Linked DNA regions of Homo sapiens: regions 2 and 3 are each linked to region 1. Evidence: promoter capture Hi-C in human tissues and cell types (Jung and others, 2019). All regions are on one chromosome and are shown on one strand. Each heading gives the region's core, a stretch centred on a gene start or on the middle of the fragment in contact. The rest is flanking DNA. Distances are from core to core; before and after follow the strand shown. Region 1 holds the start of DNAH10OS (dynein axonemal heavy chain 10 opposite strand). Region 2 overlaps MPHOSPH9 (M-phase phosphoprotein 9). Region 3 overlaps NCOR2 (nuclear receptor corepressor 2).

Region 1 (4,951 bases), core at 2,371-4,870:
GGTGACCCAGGGTTTAGAGCCAAGGGTGCTATGTGAGGTGACCAGGGACTGCAGGTCACCAGAAGAGCAGGAGAAGGAGGTGGCTGGTGTTTGCTGAAGGACTGGGTGAGGGCAGGCACCCAGGGACAGCAAAAGGAGGCAGAGGCCCGAAGTGTTAGGGCAGGGGCAGGGAGGGACCAAGGGTAAGAGCCACAGAGGCGAGACAGCTCACTCTCTGAGCAGGAAGTGGGAAAGAGTCTGTGTGTGTGTGTGTGTGAGAGAGACGGGGGTAGGGGGGTGAGAGAGGCGGCCAGCGGCAGAGCAAAGGTGACAGCCCCACACCTCTTCTCCTCTAAACATCAGAATTTTAATTCAATAGACATGGATAATTCTTTTTACATTTGAGTTTCAAAACAGTACTTTGAATGTAGCAGGCATTCCATAAATGCCATCTGAGCAGACAGAGGGATTTGCGGCCAGTTGAATCCTAAGTGTTTGCTGAGGTCTGATACTCTGCAATTGCCTGTTTTAAGTTCAGCATCTTTAAGGTTCAGAGACATTCTTTTATGCAGTAGGCCAGAGAACTAAGAGCCGGAAAGGGCCTCTGAGATGCCCCGATCTCCCCACCTCGGGGAGGGGAGGGGTCTTTCCAGAGCCCCCACAGCCCTGCCTTCTGCATGGCCCCCACAGCCTAGACAGGGCCCCCACCAGACAGGTCCGCCTGCCCCATAGGCCTCACCACTCGGCCTCAGTCTAATGAGTTCTTCACCTGCTTCCTCGGCTTATTCTTGTAGGAGACGGGACTTCTAAAAGCAGTGAATTAAAGAAAAGATGTGAAGAGCTGGAAGCCCAACTGAAAGTGAAAGAGAACGAAAATGCTGAGTTGTTGAAAGAACTGGAGCAGAAAAACGCGATGATCACAGTGCTGGAGAACACCATCAAGGAGCGAGAGAAGAAGTACCTGGAGGAGCTGAAGGCCAAGAGTCACAAGCTGACCCTGCTGTCTAGCGAGCTGGAGCAGCGGGCCAGCACCATCGCCTACCTGACCTCCCAGCTGCACGCCGCCAAGAAGAAGCTCATGAGCTCCAGCGGGACCTCAGATGCCAGCCCGTCAGGGAGCCCCGTGCTGGCCAGCTACAAGCCAGCGCCCCCCAAAGACAAGCTACCCGAAACGCCTCGCCGCCGCATGAAAAAGAGCCTCTCAGCCCCCTTGCACCCGGAATTTGAAGAGGTCTACAGATTCGGGGCAGAGAGCAGGAAACTCCTTTTGCGGGAACCAGTGGATGCTATGCCCGACCCCACCCCATTTCTGCTGGCTAGGGAGTCCGCCGAGGTCCACCTCATCAAAGAGAGGCCCCTCGTCATCCCCCCCATCGCCTCCGACCGAAGCGGCGAGCAGCACAGCCCGGCCCGCGAAAAGCCGCACAAGGCCCACGTCGGGGTGGCACATCGGATCCACCACGCCACCCCGCCGCAGGCCCAGCCCGAGGTGAAGACCCTGGCGGTCGACCAGGTGAACGGAGGCAAGGTGGTGAGGAAGCACTCAGGGACGGACAGAACTGTGTGAAGCCCGCCGTGCCCCACCCCGCGCTGTCCATGCACTGTGAGCACCACTGGGAAATCTCAGCCACACCTTTTCTGTTTAATCCCATGCATGCCAAACACTTTTCACACCTACCGACCCATTCTCCTTCTGCTTCTCTTGCCCTCTTCTTCACACCAAAATATGATCGTGTCCCTGCCGCAGAATATGTATTTCCTAATTGCTGTGGCCAAACGCCTGTGTGCCGAATCGCTTGCTTCTGATCCCGCTCCGTGTAACCTAAGTGCGCTGCAGGCAAAGCCCAGGCCACGGCTGCGTCACTACTGATGTTCACGATGCCACACAGTCACACACCTAATTCATTCTCAAGTCGGAGCAACACATACCAACCTTGACCTTATCCTCAAGCTCCAGGGCAGCCTGGCCGAGCAGCCCCTGCTCCCTCCTGGAGACCCTTGTCACCTCCCGAGCTCCTCCTGGAGACCCCTGTCACCTCCTGACCAACCTTTCCCAGGGCGGCACCGATCACCGAGCAGCCGTGCGTGTATCTCAAGGAACTAAATAAGATGACGCTACTCCTCATAGCACCACAACCTGAATGTGTGTTCATATTTTTTTGTTAGTTTTATCCAAAATGTTTAAGATCCCAACAAACTTTATTTTCTAAACCTGCCTTCCTTCTGTTTTGTGTCTTTTATTAAACAAACACCTGAAGGAGGGCTAGGAGACTGCAGGAGGGAGAGCAATCACAGGTCCCAGAAGCGACTCCGGCCTCCTCCCGGCCCAGAGCTAGTCCTTAGAATGTGCTGCGCTCCTGAGCTTCTGTGGGAAGCTGCTTTTGCCTCTGATGGCCCCTGCCCACTGTGCTGCCCGTGCTAGCCCCTCTCCTCCCTCATGGAGTGAAGCCACCCCTCACCTCCAGGTGGCCAGCCAGGGCTCCAGGCCAGCCTCATGGTGCACAGAGGGAAGGGGTGCCCAGTGACCACTGGTCCTGGAGGTTCTGTGTCCTTACCTGACCCCACACAGACCCAGGCAGGCTGGGGGTAGAAGCTCATGCAGGAACTAAACACTAAGCTCAACAACTTCACAGTCGCCGTAGCAGGTCAGAGCCAAAGAAGCTAGGGCCAGAGAGTTCTGGAAGGGGGAGAAGTGGCTCCAGGTGACTGGTCACTTCTGCTCTGTGCCCGACATCATCAGCCCTTCTTGCCAAAAAGGAGCATCTGCTGAAACAGACCTGGATCATCGAAAACACACCTTTGGAAATTACATTAGGATTCTCACTTGTGCCAATGCTATGTATGCCAGGCACTTTTGCCTAATCAAGTGTTTTCTCTGAGAAGGAAAAGAAAACTCCACACATCTTAAAATACTCTCCAATATTTACTTTTTGATTATATAAATTCCTTTTAAAAAGTAGTATTAAAAACAAAACCATTCAGGTTAATTTGTATGGAAAGAGATTTAAGTGGCTGATTTCAAATGAAAAATCAGTGTCAGTCCCCCTCCTGCCTCTTGAGAGGCCCCAAGAAATGACAGCAGACCCGATCACTCTGACAACCCCAGGCTCCGAATTCATTAAGCAGTTTTCTTCACCCAAAGGTTAATCAGAATTCAGGGTGAGGCATACTCCTTGCAGCACCCAGTGAGAAATGTGCCTCGTGGTAAAGAGATCAGCTTCAAAAACCAAGCCGACTCCCATGGCGTTCCTTCTCATGGAGGTGGTGTAGACGGGGGTCCGGAAAGTATTCTGCAAGGGAAAGGCAGGTGAGATGCCCCCACGGAGAGAGGGTGCAGAGGGATAAAGGCAGAGGTGCAGTGTAAGTCTTGACAGGCAGGGGCCCCTGTGCAAGACTGCACCTGAGAACACGCACAAGGCTGGGGCTGCTCAGGGCCACCCTCCGCCAGCTTCACGGGGACCTGGCTTCACACTGACACCCTGGTTAAAAGTGGGTCCTGGCCCAGGCAGAGCAGAAGACATCTGCTGTCCACACCAGCGGGAACCACTTTATGACTCAGGCAATGTCTGCAGCATTTTGCAAGAAGGGAGGGAGTCTCCCCTTGGTTAGTCTAGACCACAGGATCACAGCTTGAGCCTGACACCTCTGGAAGGACCGGCATCCACACACACATACAGCCGCGCCTTTTCCAGGAAGCAGCTATCCGTAGCTTTTATCACGGCTCCAAGACTCTCCCCAGCCCATAAAGCTTAGGCACCCCTGTTTTAAAAAGTAGGACTGTTGGAAACCACCTCAGCCATAACTACAGTCAGAAGAGGAAGGGCCCTGGTGTCAGAGAGGAGGGGCTGGGACCTTCACCTGCAGCTTGAGGCGATGGGCTTCAATGGGGATGATCTTCAGGATCGGCAGGTCCACAACCAGCACCTTGGGTTTGCTCTTGATAAGACATCCTTTTTCTATATCCCAGTCAGCACCTTCCAGGTACAGTCCTGAGACAAAGCATCCTAGGGACACAAGGCAGAGACTGGATACAACTGGAGCATGCACAGCCTGCCACGGAGTGGCTCTATCAGGCGCACACACAGCGACACACAGGCCACTGGCTGGCCTCCTCCCCAGCGCATTGGGGACAGCCCAGGCCCTTCTCCAGCATTTCTGTCCTGCCCACCTTCCCTCTGTGGAGGAGCAGCCCAGACAGGAGACCCTGTGGCCCTGCCCCATGGCCCAGAGAAATGGGTGTGGGGCGGTGGCCTCTCCCCCAGGAATCCTCATTCCTGGGGCATCAAGGCCCACGGACTTAGACCACCCTGGGCCCCCAGGCTAGAAAGATGCATGGTCCCAGAGTCAGAATGGGCACCATGGCAACCCCAGCTACCCTGTGAGCCGAAGTGGCTGGGGAGCAGGAAGTCGAAGCCTCACAGAGAAAGTGGTCTCCGGGGAGGAGGACCCAGCAGATGTGCAAAGAGAGGAACACACTCCTGTGGCCCCAGAGAGAGTGGTGGCCCGGACACCTGCCACCTCCCCTGCCACTGAGACCTGGAGAGTCCCTGCATCTTTACCGTAAGTCCCCAGTCCTTAAGCCATCTCAAAAGAGCTTTTGTTCCTTGCAGTTAAAAGAACTCTAAGACAACATGGACCCGGGGAAACAGCAGTTTCCAGCTCTCATTTGCACAGTCAGTAACCAATGTCTAAGGGACCTGAAGTTCTGGCATAATCAAAGAGTTCCAACCAAGTTAGTCCATGCTGCTCTGTGGCTCCCATGCCCCTGGCCCCGTCAGGGGTTACAAGAAAGCCACCTGATGGTTTTTGCAAGAGCTAATTCTGACCTAGGAGCCCACTTGCCATGAGCTAGCAGAGTGAACATGGTTCAGGTCTCCCCTGCCATAGACCCCAGGTCTCAACGGAGAAAGTGGAAGAGAAACTTCCGTATCCACCCTCAGAGGTGTTAAGACATGGGCAGTGCAGAGACACA
Region 2 (4,951 bases), core at 1,161-3,660, 710 kb after region 1:
ATAACAGACTCTAAGTAGACAAAATAGTGGACTAAATAGATGTTATCAAAGTGTGTTTTATGCATTTTATTAATTTTTTAAAATGCATTTTATTTTTAAGCTATCCTGTGATTGGTTTTTTATTTTTTAATGGTCTTAACACAGATCATGGTTTGTTTTTCATCAGAGCCTGTTTACTTTCAATTTGCACATAGTCTGACAAGCTTGGTTATTGGGTTTCTAAATTTATAGTAGTGTAGAAACAGCAAAGAGGCAAGGACTGTAAGAGAGGAGAGCATCTATAAAGAGCGGGTACAAGGAAGGAAAACAGCGGTTTTGGGGCCTTACTGGTAAAGGGGCAAGGAGCTTTAAACACGGTAGGTCTTGAAGAAATTGTGTATTATAAATAAATACATTACTTTAAAAGTTGTTAATTCTCTGCCCTTTTCAGGAGGAATTTAAGGCAGCTTACATGGGTATATAAAACAATGGGGGTGGGGAGTTGTAAAAAACAAAGGAATATGTGAAATAAAACGAGAAAAGGAAATTTTAAAAGGCACAGGAAATGGTCCTACAGTAATCTGTATGCACTTGCAGAAAGTTGGCCACGCATTTTGGTTCTTGTATTACTTGGTGGTCCCTTTAAAGTACACTTCTAGAAGATATTCCTGTTAGAACAGTGTTTGATTTGGCTGGAGGAAGCTAACTGTGCCTTGCTAGTGAAAATTAGGCAATTAAACTTGTCTTCCTTTTCATTGTGACTGGCAGTTAAATTGGCCACATTTAAACTTGATTATTACAGCTATGTAAAATCCTTTACTGATAACATATATTCTTTCCTTTGAATTTTTTTTTTTGACGGAGTCTTGCTCTGTCACTAGGCTGGGGTGCAGTGGTGCCATCTCAGCTCATTGCGATCTCCGTGTCCTGGGTTCAAGGGATTCCCCTGCCTCAGCCTCCTGATTGGCTGGGACTACAGGCACGCACTACCACACCCGGCTAATTTTTTGTATTTTAGTAGAGATGGTGTTTCACCATGTTGGCCAGGACAGTCTTGATCTCCTGACCTGGTGATCCGCCCGCCTTGGCCTCCCAAAGTGCTGGGATTACAGGCGTGAGCCACTGCGCCTGGCCTCCTTTGAATTTTTAGTAATATTTTCACTGGTCCTAACTATTATTTTATTGTTATTTTTATTTATTTTTTTAAACAAATTATTTGTGAAAGAAAGCAGGATATCAAGCAGTAAATAAATTAAAATGATCTTTTGGTGACTAGATTTTAAGTACATTTTAATGTCCTGAAATATATTGTGTGTTTATAAAACAAATCCGAAATAACTTACCTGAAGTTTGGAAAAGCAGTACTCCTGGAAAAACTCAGTGCTGTTTTACACACTGAGTAGGCTAAATAAGTCCTGAATATTTGCTGCTGATTTGCTTGGCACAACTTTTATGCAGAGATAGTGCAGAGATAAGCATCAGCTTATCGTACCAAATTAAGGGTGTCCAGTGAACAAGATTTGACTGTCATTTGGGGCAGTGGGGAAAGAATCCCCACTGCACAATGAAGGGCTGTTCTGAAAGTTGGGGGAAATAATCCTCTGGAATAGCTGAGATCAGAGAAGCTGGAAATTAATCTTATTGTTTAGCACAGACTTTTTCTATTTTCTGCCGATCCTTTGGAGTGTTCTCTCACTTCTGGAGAAGGTCTTCTTGTTGTGTTCTTAAAAAGAGTACAGTGCGGTCTTTTTACTGGCCGTTTCCTTTTGTGGAGCAACTTGTGATCAGATTTTGAACAAATGAGGTGCCATTAGAAGGATTAAATGTCAGTGGTTTTGTACTGCTCTGCTAAATCTTGAACTGCTGAATTATTCAACACTTTGATAGAATGAAGAAAACCATTTGAATTATTTATGTTTCAACAGAAGTAGTCCCCACCTTAGTACAAATGGGGTATCCTCTTTCTCAGGGAAGACCAGACCATCTGTAATTCAAGGTACAGTTGAAGTCCTAACTTCTTTAATGCAAGAGCTACAAAACAGTGGAAAGACTGATTCGGAACTTTGGAAAAACTGTGAGGTATCTAATTTTGTTTTATTTTTGGAATTTTAAAATAATTATGTTAAAACATACCTCTACTAAACTCTAAATTATTAGAAATTTATGTCCTGAAGAGCATGACACTTTTAAGTTAATGCTAAAGTGGTCAAGTATATTAATTTGGGAATGATATTGAATGAATGGGAAAAAGGTGATCAAAAGTATTTTTTAACAATATATTACTGATTAGACATACTAATTTGTATATTAAATATGAACTAAAACATTGTCTTGGTTCAGAGACCTGAGAATCCCAAAATTATTAAAATTGTTACTAATTGTAATGTTGTCAGTAACTTATATGGAATTGTCATCATTTTGAAAAACCTAAATCCACTTTGAAATATTTTCAATGTTCTAATTATAAATTGAAGCTTCTATTTAGTACCTTACCATATTCAGCTGTGATACATTGCATTATATTGTTTTCAGATCAGTGGTTCTTTCTTTGGTTCATAGGTTAAATTGTGATATAAAAATGTAACAGTTAAAAGAATACTTACATGGCCGAGCACAGTGGCTCACGCCTGTAATCCCAGCACTTTAGGCGGCCAAGGTGGGAGGTTTGGTTGAGGCCAGGAGTTTGAGACTAGCCTGGGCAAGATAGCGAGACCCTGTCTCTACAAATATAAATACATAAATAAATTAGCTGGTCATGGTGGCACGGTGTCTGTAGTCCTAGCTACTTGGGAGGCTGATGTGGGAGGATCACTTCAACCCAGGAAGTCAGGGTTGCAGTGAGCTATGATCACAGCACTACACTCCAGCCTGGGTGACAGACTGAGACCCTGTCTCTCTCTATATATAAAAAAAGAGAACCTGTAATCCCAGCACTTGAGGCAGAGGTGGATAGCTTGTGCCCAGAGTTTGTGACCTGCTTGGGCAACATAGCAAGACCCCCTCAGTAAAAAAAAAAAAAAGTATATATAAATTTTATTTCATAGGATAATGCTCAAGATAGACTTTCCTAAGGCTGGATTTGATAGTTTTTTATAGAAATGTTTAAACCATTATTAATTCTTAGAAAGCACTAGATCTTGTTTTAAACGTTAATTGTACTTTTAGAAGCATAATTTGTGTTATTTTTCAGAATGTAGAGTAAGCGAAATGAAAGATTACCTGGTTTAAGAATTCGATAGCAGCAACTGCTAAGTGTAATTATTTATATCCATTATCCATAATTATTGAAATTATAAAAAAGTATTATTATATGCTTAAAAAATTGAGTTTTCAGTTTTTATACTTTATGCTTGTTTGCATATAATAATCAGTATGCACTAACGTGAAAGACCTTTAAAAATGCCCATGCAAATGCAATTAAAAATGGAATGTTTTATTAAGTATATTAAATGCTTCCCTTAATGTATCTACTCATAAGCTTTTTGTTTATTTGTTTGTTTGTTTTTGAGACAGAGTCTTGCTCTGTTGCCCAGGCTGGAGTGCTATGGTGCGATCTCGGCTCACTGCCACCACTGCCTCCCAGGTTCAAGTGATTCTCCTGCCTCAGTCTCCCGAGTAGCTGAGATCACAGGCGAGCGCCACCATGCCCAGCTAATTCTTGTATTTTTAGTAGAGAAGGGGTTTAGCCATGTTGGCCAGGCTGGTCTCGAACTCCTGACCTCAGGTAATCTGCCTGATTTGGCTTCCCAAAGTGCTGGGATTACAGGCATGAGCCACCGTGGCTAGCCCTTATTAGCTTTTGATAACTGAATTAACATGCTTTAGGACAAAGGAGGCATTGCCACAATGTATTTTAACTTCTGGAAAATTTGTGTTTAACTAGAAATTGTTACTTTTGATAATTAGAAATCAACCTTTTTTTTTTGACATTAGCATCTTAAGTCAGAATCAGAATATATTCCCTGCCCCACCTCTCCTCTCCCCTCCCTCCCACCCCCTCCCTCCCTCCCTTCCTTTCTTCCTTCCTTCCTTTTCTTTGTTTCTTTTTCTCCTCTTTCATTCTCTCTCTTTTCTTTCTTTCTTTTTTTTTTTTTTTTTGAAATAGGGTCTCATTCTGTCATCCAGGCTGGAGTACAGTGGCACAATCTCTGTTCACTGTACCTTCAACCTCTTGGGCTCAAGCCATCCTCCCACCTCAGCTTCCCAAGTAGCTGGGACTACAGGTGCACACCACCATGCCCAGCTAATTTTTGCATTTTTTGTTGAGACAAGGTTTTGCTATGTTGCCCAGGTTAGTCTTGAACTCATGAACTCAAATGATCCACCCACCTTGGCCTCCCAAACTGCTAGAATTACAGGCATGAGCCGCTGTGCCCAGCCTCTGAGCTCTGTTTTTATAACAGCTTTCAAAATAACATCAATTTATATTATCCTGAAATGAAATTCATAGGTAATATAACCTACCTTTACCCGCTTTAAAAAATCAATATACTATCCTAAATGTGACATAAAGGAGAAATAAAAAATTTACAGTAAAATAACATGTATTTGGATATATCCATGTCAGGCACATGTTCATTAGAAGACATAATGAAGTAGTCATGTTTACCTGTATGTACTCACTGTGAATTCAGCAGCTGAACACAGATCAATATAGCTATGGTGTGTTGATGATCCAGGTATTGTGTACAGCACCTCCACTGGTGACATGCTTTTCTGAAAGGGTGACCAACTTCTCATGAGATTTTGAAACTTAAGTTTGTTTTGATGTTATGAATACTGTGCGAAATATTTATTGTTTTATAACATAAAATGGACACAGGACAATTCTTCATCATGGGGGACTGCCCTATGATCCGCATGCCTGGACCCTGCCCACTAAATGCCAGTGATGTCCCCCCAGCTTTGTCATGACCGTGACCTCACAGATTTCCAACATGGAGTTCCTTCCCCATTGAGATCACTGCATCAT
Region 3 (4,951 bases), core at 1,341-3,840, 570 kb before region 1:
TGACGAGACGCTCCGGGCACCCCAGCTTTCTGGCTTTAACCTGGCCCACGTATCTCTACCCTGTACATCTACCCGGGGTCAAGGAGGAGGATTCCCAGGCTGGAGTCCTCTCGGCCTTTCTCCTCGAACCCAGCTCAAGGGGAAGATGTGCTGGTTTATGCTGAAAAGGGAGAAGTGGTGCCAGGTGGGGGACTCGGGAGAGTTGAGACCCTCCCACGCTGAGTCTGGGTTTGGGACTGGAGGCAGTTTTCCCTAGGGTCCTTCTTACTCAGCAGGCTGGGACTTGGGGAGCAGTTATATGGGTTTGGGGGTTCCTGAAGGCGACAGTGCCTTTCTGTGTCCCTCATGGAGCTGGGCATGTGGGAGGGCCTGGGAATATTAGCAGGATGAAGACATGCTTGGCCCTGGGGATTGGTTAGAAATGTAAGACCAGAAAAACCCGGAAAATGAAGCAGCTAAGTTGATACCCATCTGGTGATGAGTGTGTGCATCCATCCGCCCATCCATCCATCCATCCATCCATGCATCCATGCATCCATCCGTCCATCCATCCATCCATTCGTCTGTCCATCCATCCATCCATCCATCCATCCATCCATCCATCCATTCACCCGTCCATCCATCCATCCATCCATCCATTCGCCCATCCATCCATCCATCCATCCGTCCGTCCGTCCATCCATCCATCCGTCCATCCGTCCGTCTTCCATCTATCCATCCATCCATTCGTCCATCCATCCATCCATTCATCTGTCCATCCTCTGTCCATCCATCCATCCATCCATCAATCCATCATCCATCCATCCATCCATCAGTCCATGCATCCTTCCTCCTTTCTCTATCCATGCATGCATTCATCCATCCATCCTCCTTTCCTCCCTCCCTTCCTCCTTTCTCCTCCATCCTCCCATCTCTATCCCTCTTCCATCTTCTCCCTCCATCCAGCCACCCCCTGCTGAGCACCTGGGTGGGGAGTCTGCCAGTTGGGCCAGACCTGTCACTGGGTGTGGGCCGTGGTCAGCAGGGCCTTTTGCCTTTTGTCTGACTTGGTCACTGCTGTAGCTGTGCTTGTACAGTGTTTGCACATAACAGATGCTGAAATAATTCTCTAATTGATGAGAATGGGTCAGCAACCGGAGTTTGGGATGGGTTTGGCTTGCCTGGTCTCAGCTGGAGGGCAGACCGCACCCTTGTGGGTGGCACCCGGGATTGAGCTCTTAGTATTTGACCCTCAGCCCCTCCGGCAGAGCCAACGACAGGCTGGGGTTGGGTACCTGGCTCTTCCTTAGGGAGTGGAATGACCTTTCTGCCAAGTGAGGGCCAAGGAGTCTGGCCTCATTCCTGCAGGCCTGCCGCTGTGCATGGGTGGAGGCCCGTTTCTCTAGGGCCCTGACAATCGTGGCTGTCATCATTCAGGGTTACAGGGGCCCTTTTACCTGTGCCCCACACTCAGACACCTGTGCCCAGTGCTCCTCGACACAGGGGCAGCTACAGTGTCCTTTGAACACAGAGACGCCAGAGGCAGACTTGCCACAGGAGACCGCACGTCAGCCTTGTTTAAAGTGCACCAGCTGTGTCCTTCCTAGCTCCCTTGCAGTGAACACCCCAGCTTTCTGGCTATAGCCAGAAAGAGTGACCTCACATGCCTTCGCTCACCCCACTCTCCCCATCCAGGCCTCCCTGCTGTCCTCACACACCAGGCTCGGTCCTGCCTCTGGGCCTTTGCACCTGCTGTGCCTGCTGTGTAGACTCCCTCCTCTCCCCGGCGCCTTTGCATAAAAGGCACCTCTGGTGACGCACCCCTGACTGCCCACTTTCAAAATGTACCCCCATTCCCTGCCTGCCGCCTCCTGGTTCTGTTTTTCTCCATCGTGCTAACACCTTCTGCCATCCTCTTACTCCCGTCTCACCTGCTGGAATGGCAGCTTCACGAGGTGGGGGATTTGGGATCAGTAATTCACTGCTGTATCCCCAGCACCTTTCACACAGTAGGTGCTTAACAAATCGTGGTAGACAGAGTGAGCCACCAGGCCGGGCAGCAGGAGCTCTCTCTTCACCCCCTTCCTCATTGGCTGTGGGGGCCCCTCTGGACTGGGCTGGGCGAGGTGCACCCTTGCCACGTCCCACCGGCTTTCCGCATCTCAGGACTCACTCCAGAGCTGGATTCCTGAGCATCCGTTCTGCGCCAGGAGTCCTGCTGAAGGTGGCCATCAGATACTTGGCCAGTTCCCCAGTTTTTACTGCACGCCAGAAAGTAAACACCCAAGGTGTCAACAGCTCGACCCGTGGAGCTGGCGCTCCGCAGCGTCTTGTGCGCACATCCCAGAACTGCTGTCCCAGAGTTCCCCCCGGGCCGGCTTCTCCTCGGGCCAGACTGGCTGCAGTGGTTTTGTTTAGTAAATATTTATTAGATGCCTACTGTGTGCTGGGCTCTGGGGATACAGCAGTGAACAAAACAAGTATTTCTGGAGCACCTCCTGAAGTAGGTAGTGTTCTCCCTTAAGGTACGTCTGCGTGGAACCTGGGAGTGCGGCCTTGTTTGGAAAGGGTTTTTGCAGATCACATTAGTTAAGATGAGGTCACAACCGGATAGGGGAGGGCCCCAAATCCAATATGACGGGTGCCCTTAGAAGAAGGGGAGACACAGAGACAGGAGATGCAGTGGAAAGGCTGCGTGGAGATAGAGGCAGAGGATGGCACGATGCATCTACAAGCCAGGGAACACCGGGGGTTGCCGGGGCCACCAGAGCTGGAGGAGTGAGGAAGTAGGAAGGGCCTCCCCCAGAGCCCCCAGAGGCCGTGGGGCCCTGATGACAGCTGGATATGGACTCGAGGCCTCCAGAACAGTGAGACAATCCATTTCTGTTGCTTGAAGCCATGCAGTCTGTGGTGGGGCAGCCGAGGGCGCTAATACGCCTCGTGTGTGCCAGGTGCCGTGCCTCTCGGTGGCTGTCACACAATAGGTGCTTATTCCACAGTGAGTGGAACAAATACCTACTGAGCGGTGAGGGAGGCCGTATGTGGCTGAGCTGCAGGGCTCCTGGGGCCTGCCTGTCTTCGCAGGGCCAGGCTGGGACAGTGGAGGCACGGCCTGTGTTCCCGCCGTGGTTCCGCCCACCCCAGGGGGGCTTTGTGCCTTGGGCTTCTCAGAGTATCAGAGGGTTCTGTCGAGTGTGTGTGTGTGTGTGTGTGTGTGTGTGTGTGTGTGTGTGTGTGCGCGCGTGCGCGCGCGCTCGTGCCGTGGGCGCTCTCTGCCTGGCAGGTTGGTTTTTAATCCCGAGGCTCCCCCACCTGCCACAGGTTCTTCCAATGTCAGCACCCATTAGTTCCCAGAACATTTCAGGCACGTGCGGCGCAGAGCCCCGCGTGCCTTTCATCCTCCCCACAGCCCGCGGCTGAGCGCTCCGGGCACATCCTGTAGCTCCCACACCTCCACCAGCCCCCGCCTGCCCCTCACCCTGAGGCTGTAATTCCACCCTCCCCAGGTCTGAACCAGGCCGCTCAAGACACAGAAAATCTATGGAATGTGTCTCGGTGTGGCCTCATCCTGCCGGAGCTGGAGAGGAATGCAGGGGTGGGAGGCCCCATGGAAGCTTCCAGGGCCTCCCGGAAAGGCGCCTCTGCCCGGCCAGGTGGGAAGAGGACACAGGTGTGGTGGTTTCTGGCATCACTGCGTTGCTGGCATGCACCTCCGCTGGGCAGAGTCATTCAGTGTGCACCTACTGTGTGCCAGGCACCAGAAGGGGCTCTGGGTCCAGCAGGAGGCAAGGCGGACAGCCAGTCAGAGCTCACGGCCTGAGCTTTCCGCTGTGGATTTGGAAACCTTACCAAAGCCCGCAGTGGCCGGGAACAGGGAATGTGGCCCACTTGGCTTCTGCTGCTGCCTGGCAGAGTGCAGTGGGGGCGGGGGGCACTTGTGTGTTTGCTACCTCCTGGCAGGCATGGCCCAGGGACAGACCCCTGCAGCCGTGCATGGGGAGCCCCTCCACCTGCCTGCGTGGGATCTGCAGCCCTCCTCCAGCTGGTTCAGGGGCCAGCAGGGGCCCTGGGGCTGTGGTTGGTGGCTTGGATGTGCAGAGGCCTGCTTGGGCCCTTGGTGTCCCCGTTGGGTATCCCGGCCACCTGAGATCTACAAGTCCCTTGACCTCACCCAGGCACCGTCTTGTTCTCCTCGGAGGCCTGACCCTCCTGACTCTGCATGGCTGAGCACCTGCTGTTCCCCAGGCACCTCTCGGTATGCCACAGGCACAGGGTCCTCGCAGCGGGCCTGTGCAGCGGGACTCCTGCAGCGAGCTGTTTCCTCGGCCTGCAGAGTCAGCCTCCCTCCTGACTTTCATCCACCTGCCCATTTCCCCTTCTCTGTCGCTGTTGCCCTGATCCCCCAGTGTCCCCTCTCTTGGACATTTGCAGGAGCCTCCCCAGGTCTCCCTGATCCACTCTTGCTGTCCCCAGTGCCTGCTCGTAAAACACTGACCCTTTACTCTCCCCCGCAACCACCTTCTGTGGCTCCCCACTGCCCTGAGAACAAAATCCATCCTTACCCGGGCCCATGGGGCCCTGAATGACTCTGTCCCCACTTCCCCCCATATTCACTCAATGAATTTCTCAAACATAAACGGCACCTGTGCTCACCCCCAGGCCCTCGCTCACCCCTGGGCCTGTGCTCACCGCCTGGCGGGGGCTCACCCCCAAGCCTGCGCTCACCCCCCACCAGCTGGCGCTCACCTCCCTGCTCTTGCTCAGCGGCGCCTCCAGCTGGAGCACTCTCCATCCCCTCGCCTTCACCCTCTGGAAGTTCTTCTTCCTCGTATCTCCTGGCTCTCCCCAGGGCTGGGCAGAGCCCCTGGCCTGAGACCCTCCAGGGCCTGGACCCCGCTGGGTTCACAAGAAGTCCCCAGCACTAGCCCGGGGCTCAGCAGGGACCACAGTGTGTATGTAAATAAATGAATGC

What was found. Contacts are between HindIII fragments. The study calls those that stand out against the background at their distance.
Region 2: a contact is called between a fragment that was not itself captured here and the fragment with the promoter of DNAH10OS in region 1, in 1 of the 25 tissues and cell types used here (dorsolateral prefrontal cortex).
Region 3: a fragment that was not itself captured here is called in contact with the fragment with the promoter of DNAH10OS in region 1 in 3 of the 25 tissues and cell types used here (dorsolateral prefrontal cortex, pancreas and spleen).

The regions. Positions count from the first base shown.
Region 1 is chr12:123,933,653-123,938,603 of GRCh38, reverse strand. DNAH10OS (dynein axonemal heavy chain 10 opposite strand) reads left to right here and starts at 3,620. Exons shown (of 2, transcript NR_187476.1): 1 at 3,620-4,539. DNAH10 (dynein axonemal heavy chain 10) reads right to left here. Exons shown (of 79, transcript NM_001372106.1): 78 at 3,838-3,983; 79 at 2,890-3,269. The coding sequence ends at 3,123. It overlaps CCDC92 (coiled-coil domain containing 92), which reads left to right. Exons shown (of 5, transcript NM_025140.3): 5 at 774-2,978. The coding sequence ends at 1,546. RefSeq lists enhancers at 1-54, 55-555. The HindIII fragment of the contact is 2,982 bases long and covers 1,683-4,664 here.
Region 2 is chr12:123,224,570-123,229,520 of GRCh38, reverse strand. MPHOSPH9 (M-phase phosphoprotein 9) reads left to right here. Exons shown (of 24, transcript NM_022782.4): 3 at 1,905-2,058. Among named protein-coding and RNA genes, the nearest start is that of MPHOSPH9, 6.1 kb to the left of the region's middle. The HindIII fragment of the contact is 6,998 bases long and covers 1-4,951 here.
Region 3 is chr12:124,499,328-124,504,278 of GRCh38, reverse strand. All of the region lies in intron 2 of NCOR2 (nuclear receptor corepressor 2), which reads left to right. Among named protein-coding and RNA genes, the nearest start is that of NCOR2, 66 kb to the left of the region's middle. The HindIII fragment of the contact is 6,725 bases long and covers 1-4,951 here.